Regions from separate parts of the Homo sapiens genome. Here region 1 is linked to region 2. Evidence: promoter capture Hi-C in human tissues and cell types (Jung and others, 2019). All regions are on one chromosome and are shown on one strand. Each heading gives the region's core, a stretch centred on a gene start or on the middle of the fragment in contact. The rest is flanking DNA. Distances are from core to core; before and after follow the strand shown. Region 1 overlaps PLGRKT (plasminogen receptor with a C-terminal lysine). Region 2 holds the start of PDCD1LG2 (programmed cell death 1 ligand 2).

Region 1 (4,142 bases), core at 200-2,699, 150 kb after region 2:
TGTGCAAAAACACATCTATTTTTAAACTCTAATTGAACTCAAAATGAACCTCAGTTTCTCTTGGTGACAGCAAATTTAATTTTGACAAGTCAAAGTTACTCAATTACTTCTAGTTTAAAACTCGGTTCTTTGGGAGAAAATAGTTGAATTCAGCTTTCCTCCTCCCCTTCTCCGTTCATCTTTTCCCTGGTATGACCTAGGCTTGGGTCCAGGTGATCTCAGGTGGCACCAGCATCAGGGAAGGCACATCTAGCCAGATGCATCTGGGGATCCCCAGACAGAGAATTATGGCCCTGCTTCCTGTGGAGAATGTTGGGAGGGAGCAGGTACTGCAGAGCATAAATGGTTTCAGAGCAGACCTCACAGAGAGCATGCCTAAGAGAGGCCACTTCCGTCTCCCTCAGCGGCCAAGGGGTGTGAAGAAAGTCTGCAAGGTTCTCACATCAGCTGGAGAGGGCCAGAGAAGGTAGCTGAAGATTGAGAGCAGGTGGCCTACCAGAGTCCAAAACCTTGGGCCAGGGGACCCCATAACACACACTTGGGAGTGAATATAAGCCAGTGGCTGAGTGGGGAAGGCCACTGGATCCCAGAGGATCAGTAGCACCTGAGAGTATGGCGATGATGGTTACGCCAGCCTGGAACATGGCCACATGCCCTTAGGGAACATCATGTGGCGCTGTCCAGGTTGATTGAACAGAAAACAAAGCAGAAAAGCACTCTCGGGTGCTGCTGATCCTCTGGGATCCAGTGAGTGGCCTTCCCCACCCAGCCACTGGCTTATGTTCACTCCCCAAGTGTCTGTTATGGGGTCCGCTGGCTCTAGGTTTTGGACTCATTGGTAGTCCCCCTGCTCTCAATCCGCAGTTACCTTCTGTGCCCCTCTCCAGCTGATGTGAGAACCTTGCAGACTTCCTCCACACCCCTTGGCTGTTGAGGGAGATGGAAGCGGCCTCTCTTAGGTGTGCTCTCTGCAAGGTCTGCCCTGAAACCATTTCTGCTGTGCTGTAGCTGCTCCCTCCCAGAATTCTCCGCAGGAAGCAAGGCCACAAGTCTTCTCTGTTTAGGGATTCCCAAACCCATCTGAGGCTTCCGTCATATCTTCTGGTGATTTAACCTCCCAAATAGGCCAAGGAGCCAAGCCCCATCTTTACATCTAAACTATCATTCGCCCCTCCCAGCTACTCCCCTCAGTAGAAAGAGGGCATGGAGGGAAAACTAAATCACATTATTAGTCCTTCCTCTCCTCTTCCTTGCATCATGAACTCCCTGTGTATTGCCCTCTAGCTTGGCTAATGACATGTAGTGCCAAGATTTTAGAATTAAAACATCAACAACAATGCCAACAACACTTTTCTCTGTCAAGAATATAACTCTCTTCAAATAATGGGCTTGGGTTTACAGACAGTTGCTTCTCCTGAGTATTTTCTAAAAATCAATTTAGAAATTCAGTTTCCTTCTCTGTTCTGAGCCATCTGCCTTCTGTTCAAAGCAGTGAAAGGCACTGAACAAAGTGGTGAAGAACTTGAGGCGAGAAAAATGTGGCAAAGAAAAATCTCTATAGATGTCTCAAAACAACACCCATCTACTATGATATTGTGGTATGATATGGAGCAAATAAATACTCCAAATAAATTTCAATTTGGAATGGATTTGGAAGGCAGATTTCCATGCAAGTAGAAATAAAGGCCAATAAGATGTATCTACATTTAAAGACCCATAGATCTTTCCACACATCCAATAGGAAAAGCTGGACATTTATTTGAGACTTGGCTAAAGCTCCAGACCACAGGCAGTCAAGACCTCAGGGTGTAAAAATGGAATATTGATATTTATTCTGTATTTATTCCAGGAAGATTTCACTGCCAAGGTGACAGTTGGTGAGAGCTGTCCAAAGGAACTTTAGTCAAAGTCTGTTGAGATTTTTTTGAAAAAACATGAATTAAAGCAATTGAAGAATGAATCCGCTGGAAAAACAGATTATTAACTATTTGTTCAGATTCCAAAGATGAGTAACTTTACTTTGTCTTTTGTTTTGTCCTTAGCTGGAAAGGCAGCTCATCATGCAGAGTGAAATGAGGGAAAGACAAATGGCCATGCAGATTGCGTGGTCTCGGGAATTCCTCAAATATTTTGGAACTTTTTTTGGCCTTGCAGCCATCTCTTTAACAGCTGGGTATGTTTGCTATTTAACATTTTCTTCAGTCATTTACTTCTTTTTGTGTTTTCCATTACCATTTTATTATGAAGTTGGCCAGAATAAGACTTTGGTCCAAATAGTGTATGTAACCAAAGTAACCTATTAACCTTAGTCCTTGGGGGTAACTCTGTGAAAGCAAGGCAGTAACAGTTAATTTAGTTTCCTAGGTTGCTTCTGTCTTTTTCTCTACTTTATTAGTTAGAGAGAGAGAGCACCAACTTGACACCAAGAAGGGCTCTATGTGTTTATCTCCACAATCCCTTAGTGGTAGATACCAATCCTTACTCATTTTAAAAACAAGGAACCTGAGCTTCAGAGTCAAATAAAGATGAGCAAGTCACAGACCTTGCCCTTGAGAACTGCAGAATCTGGTTAGGGGTATTGGGTAAGGAAATCCTATTTCCATAGAATTATCAAATGTGTTAAGTAACTTCTGAAGGAAAAGGCATTCTTCCAAAAAGCAGGTATTTTTTTTTCTTTAAGTATACAGATATGTATTTACAGGTTATTTTTTGATATTGGTTCTTCTTTTAATTCTTGAAACAGAGCGATTAAAAAAAAGAAGCCAGCCTTCCTGGTCCCGATTGTTCCATTAAGCTTTATCCTCACCTACCAGTATGACTTGGGCTATGGAACCCTTTTAGAAAGAATGAAAGGTAAGTCTTTGGTAAACTAGAGTTTCTATTTGCTGATTTATTTTCCATTTCAAGGATCCCTGCCTTAGGAACCTTTGACTTATAAAGATTCTGACAAGACTCTCTCTTTGAACCTCCAATGAGCAACATTTCTGCTCCCTTTCACACAGTGGTGTCCTAGAGCCAGCTCATACCAGCTCACAAGAACCAATCGCTACATTTTCAGGGATTGTGTAAGCTGGTTGTTAAACATAGTCACTTAATGTATTAAAACTTTTATAAACTTGCAATAAATAAATTACAGCAAATAAATAATATTAAATTGTGTTTAAAACAAAGGTAATAAACAGAACTCATCTGTTTCTAAATATTTACTATTATCCATACTCTGGTTATTTATAGCTATTGTATCTATGTGATAGAAATGCAGATATAATACACAGACAAAACAAAATACAGCTACAGTCCAGTTTCAGTGACATCCCATTGGTAGCCTGAAGTTGGTCTTGGTGGGAATATTTACACAATGGAAATCTGTTGTTGCCAAATCAAGGCTTGACTTCTTATTTTGTTGATTGTCTGGACCAGGGGTTGAAAAATGATGGCCTGAGGCTGGCCACCTGTTTTCCAAAATAAAGTTTTATTGGGACACATCCATGCTCATTCATTTATGTATTGTCTGTGGCTGCCTTCCCATTACCATGACAGAGCCATCCTTGAAACAGAAACATGAGTCCACAAGCCTATAATATTTACTGTCTGGCCCTTTAAGACAGTTTGCCAACCTATGGTCTAGATTTTAAAACTTGATGAAGAAAATGCTAATAATGCAGATTAAGCTTAAAAGTGTGCTTTGTCTGTAACTATTACATTGTAAGTAGCATAAAAGTTGGTGAAATATTCTTCTAATATTGAAAAACTATTATCCAGTTCAGCAAATAAGTTGTTTACATCATTCTCAAATAAATGAAGTTCCAACATTTGTCTTGAAGGAAACAATTGTTTCACTTTTGTCCTACTCATTAGTGTAAATGAAAACACCAACCATCATCCATTATACTCTCTCATCAGCTGCAACATAGGCTGGCTACAGATTCAAGCATTCCATAAAAATCAATGAAAGCATTCTGTGAGAATCAATTTAGTATGTGGAATTTTATGTACATTTTATTATGATACATATTTTTATGTATAGTGAACATGTATAACACGTGTAATAAACATATATATTATACATTTATATACATTTTATTTTCAGAGAACTGGTTGGTAAATATTCACCAGCATACTGCTGCTGTCACAGAATCCTG
Region 2 (4,136 bases), core at 107-2,606:
AAAGGTGTGCTTCTTGCCTGTGAGGAGCTCCAGTTCAATGGAAAAGCTCACCAACAGGAGAAATCTGGGGAGAAGACACCCTGAAGCAGCAGACAACAAAGAGCCTGATGATGGGGAGACCTCAAATAATGAAGGCAAATAGATCAGGTTCCAGTGGCAAGAGCAGCAGGACCAGGATTGTTCATCCACTCACAGAATCTTAGGCTTGGAAAGGAGCTTGGAGGACATCCAGGCCAACTCCGTATTTGACCCTGATACAACTGTCTCATTACTGCTCACACTGAATATTTTTACTCTGCATTTTGTCAATTTAGGTCTCTCATTCCCTGCCCCTCAGAGCCATAGTATTTTTGGGTTAAAAGTCCTGATTAGTTGGTAATCTCACTCAGGCTTAGCCTCTCCACCTCCATCCCCTCCACATGAACCCATTGCCTTTGCTCTTCTACTCAGTGCATCCAGGCGGTGAGCAATCAATAGCAATTATTTCAGTTCTGTTTAATTTTTCTACCTTTTCGCTGATCATTTTATATGGAAAGAATAAGCCTTTCCATAGTCCCCAAATCATGCTTTTGTTCAATAATGATTACCTCTATAAGTTATTAAGATAATAGTTTTGGGTTTTTTGTTTTTGTTCCCCCTCCACCAACAGCTGCCTCTTAGGCATAGCTTGTAAACAAAGGCCAGCCTGGAGGGATCACCGTCTGCTAAATGGATAATCACAAACAGATGTCAGTCATAGGAAAACAGATTTTTAAGTTCTTCACCATTAAGCCTCCGAAAACTCTAAGCTGAGAGACAATCTTAAGAATAGTTATATTATTTTACAGTGCACATATTTGGTGCAGAAAATATCTCACCTTATAAAACTGAGCAACAAGAACAATATGCATAGGAACAAGTGAGAGAAATCTGGGGCAGGAGGACATTAGCTTATTTGTGCCCCTCAGCACAATTTCTGAGGCAGAATGTCTCTTGCCTCAAATGGTGTGGAGAGAAGGTAGGCCACCCTTCCCCCACCCTGGCAGCCTCATCATGGTCCACAACATAATAGTATGAGAGTATCTCAACCCACTCGTTACTCACATGAGGACTTGCCACAGCTCCACAAGTAAAGATGCAAAAGTAAACAACAAAAAACAGTTGCTGTTTGTGTTAGATTTCCTTATAGTAGCCACCAAAATGAACAGCCAAAAGGAAAAACAAAACAATCAACATGCAGTAGCTCCAACCCAGGATTCTTTCTAGCTGGGACATATGAGGATGGGTAACAAAAAAGCACTCAAAATTTGGCGTTAAGATATATTCAAGAGAAGAAAAGTTGTTCATTCAGCTTAAGGTTTGCCGTAACATGAGAGTGAGTCAAACCAGAACTAGTTCTGAGGAACTGACGAAAGCCTGGCTTATTTGGAAAGTTTTGGTTTTGCTTTTAGCAGTTTGTCTGTGAATGGGATTGCATTCCTGATTTGGCTCTTGGCTTAGCTATGGTTGGTGTTTAGGAATACTAGTGATTTTTGTATGTTCATGTGGGATCCTGAAACTTTCTGAAGTTTATCAGCTTAAGGAGCTTTTGGGCTGAGACTGTGGGATTTTCTAGATATAAAATTATGTCATCTGCAAACATGGGTAGTTTGACTTCCTCTCTTCCTTCTTGGATGCCTTTTCTTTCTTTCTCTTGCCTGATTGCTCTGGCCAGGACTTCCAATAGTATGGTGAATAGGAGTGGTGAGAGAAGGCAGCCTTGTCTTGTGCCGGTTTTCAAGGGGCATCCTTCCAGCTTTTGCCTATTCAGTGTGATGTTGGCTGTGGGTTCATCATAGATGGCTCTTATTATTTTGAGGTATGTTCCTTCAATACCTGGTTTGTTGAGAGTCTTTTTTTTAACATACCTTGAGAGTTTTTAATACCCTTTTATTCCCTCTCTTTCCCCTATTCTTATATGTGCTCCAGCTTCCCCATTGTCCCTGGAGCACATTTAGGAATAGGGGAAAGGGATGGAATGAAGAATACCAGCATGTCTTAGTGCTGTGCCAGGAAATTGACTCATTTCCTAGGGCTTCTGTAACACATGACCTCAAGTCCTTGGCATTCCCTGACTTATAGTTGTATCACTCCAATCTCTGCCTCCATCTTCAAATGACATTCTTTTCTGTGTGTATCTCTACATTCCTCTCCTCTTATGAGGATACCATCCGTTTGATTAGTGCCCACCCTAATGCAGTATGACCTCATTTAGACTACATCTGCGTAGACCCTACTTCCAAATATAGTCACATTCTGAGGTCCTCAGTAGACATGAATTTGGGGGGAACATTATTCAACTAACCTCACTTCATTTCATAGTGCCTCATTTCATTCTCAGTGCAATGTGTGGTTTAGAGTTAGACCCATTTTACACATGAGAAAACAGGACCAAGATCAAACAATGTTTCCTTAGTTGCATGGCTGAATTTGAACTCGGACCTCAGTGGCCCCACTATACCTTCAGGCTTGTGATTGGTGAGATTAAAACCACATGGCAAGAAAAGGCAAACTTGAATATAGGCCTGAATGATCAATCCTTCTCCTGCTGCCTCCCGCCCTTTTCCTTGTGCTTATAGGGGTAGGACCAGCAGAGATGTGGGGCTGAACACTCAGACAGAGGATGTTTTTAAGAAAACATCTCTCCTTGCCTGTCCTCTAAGCCTTCCCTGCCTCCTTGTTTCTTCTACAAAAGCAAGGATCTCCTTTCCTCCTCCTTGTCCTGCATCCTCTTTTCGTCCCATCGCTTGAACAAGAAGTACTTTAAGAAGTACTACGAAGCTGTGTAGTACCTACAGATGGGAGTGGCTGCCTAGACGGCAAGAGTTGGGACTGTGTCTGTGGGACCCGTGCTTCCTCTGGGGATCTGCTTCTACACCCACGGCTCCAGGCATGTGGTTTCCTTAGGAGTTGCCATTCTCTTACCTGACCCTCTGTTCCTGGCCACAGTGACTGGCTGAGGAATGGACATATGTCCCCTGTGTGGCTTTGAGTTTTAGTATCTATGGAAAACACACCTCACCTACCAGAGTTCCTGTCCTTCTTTAGGAGTGAGGTGCACTCACCACAGTTTCCTTTCCTCTCTCTTGGGTAGCCTTTCTCCAGGCTTGGCCTGCCTCTCCTCTTCACACTTTCCTTTGGGCAGTTCAGCTCTGCTTTGCCACAGTTTAGGGCATCCTGAAGCAAAGGAAGGCCCAGGTATATTCACAGCAAGGCCAAATGAAACTCAAGCTAGTGTCTCAGCACATTAGCCTGCCTCATAAATCTATATGTCTAGAGAAAATAATGGAGGGTTACAAACCAAAGTGTTAATAAAGGCATTTCTGGGTGGAGGTAACTTTTTTTAGTTTTTTGTTAAACTTTTGTTTTACATAGGTAACTTTTTTAGTTTTTTGTTAAACTTTTATTTTACATAGGTAAACTCGTGTCATGGAGGTTTGTCATACAGATTATTTTGTCCCCTAGATACTAAGCCTAGAACCCAGTCATTTTTTTTTTTTTTTTTTTTTTTTTTTTTTTTTTTTTTGCTCATCTCCCTCCTCCCTGGGGCCTCCACCCTCAGCTAGGCTCCAGTTTGTGTTGTTCCCCTCTTTGTGTCCATGTGTTCTTATCACTTAGCTCCCACTTATATGTGAACACATGTGGTATTTGGTTTTCTGTTCCTGCATTAATTTGCTAAGCATAATGACTTCCAGCTCCATCCATGTTCCCGCAAAGGACATGCTCTTTTTTACGGCTCTATAGTATTCCTTGGTGTATATGTACCACATTTTCTTTATCCAGTCTGTCGTTGATGGGCATTTAGGTTGATTCCATGTCTTTGCTATTGTGAATAGTGCTATGATGAACATGTGTGTGCATGTGTCTTTGTGATAGAATGATTTACATTTCTTTGGGTATATACCCAGTAATGGGATTGCTGGATTGAATGGTAGTTCTGTTTTTAGCTCTTTGAGGAATTGCCACACTGCTTTCCATAATGGTTGAACTAATTTACACTCCACCAATAGTGTATAAGCATTCCCTTTTCTCCATAACCTTGTCAGCATGTTGTTTATTAACTTTTTTTTTTTGAGATGGAGTCTCACTCTGTCTTCCAGGCTGGAGTACAGTGGTGA

Evidence for each region. The method cuts DNA at HindIII sites, captures the fragments that hold promoters and counts their contacts. A contact is called where the count stands out against the background at its distance.
Region 1: a contact is called between a fragment that was not itself captured here and the fragment with the promoter of PDCD1LG2 in region 2, in 1 of the 25 tissues and cell types used here (thymus).

The regions. Positions count from the first base shown.
Region 1 is chr9:5,359,789-5,363,930 of GRCh38, reverse strand. PLGRKT (plasminogen receptor with a C-terminal lysine) reads left to right here. Exons shown (of 6, transcript NM_018465.4): 4 at 2,043-2,173; 5 at 2,744-2,853. Among named protein-coding and RNA genes, the nearest start is that of RLN1, 22 kb to the right of the region's middle. The HindIII fragment of the contact is 8,856 bases long and covers 1-4,142 here.
Region 2 is chr9:5,507,751-5,511,886 of GRCh38, reverse strand. It overlaps PDCD1LG2 (programmed cell death 1 ligand 2), which reads right to left and starts at 1,356. Exons shown (of 7, transcript NM_025239.4): 1 at 1,084-1,356. All of the region lies in intron 2 of INCR1 (interferon stimulated noncoding RNA 1), which reads left to right. RefSeq lists enhancers at 1,258-1,307, 1,468-1,527, 1,588-1,667, 1,609-2,808. The HindIII fragment of the contact is 28,529 bases long and covers 1-4,136 here.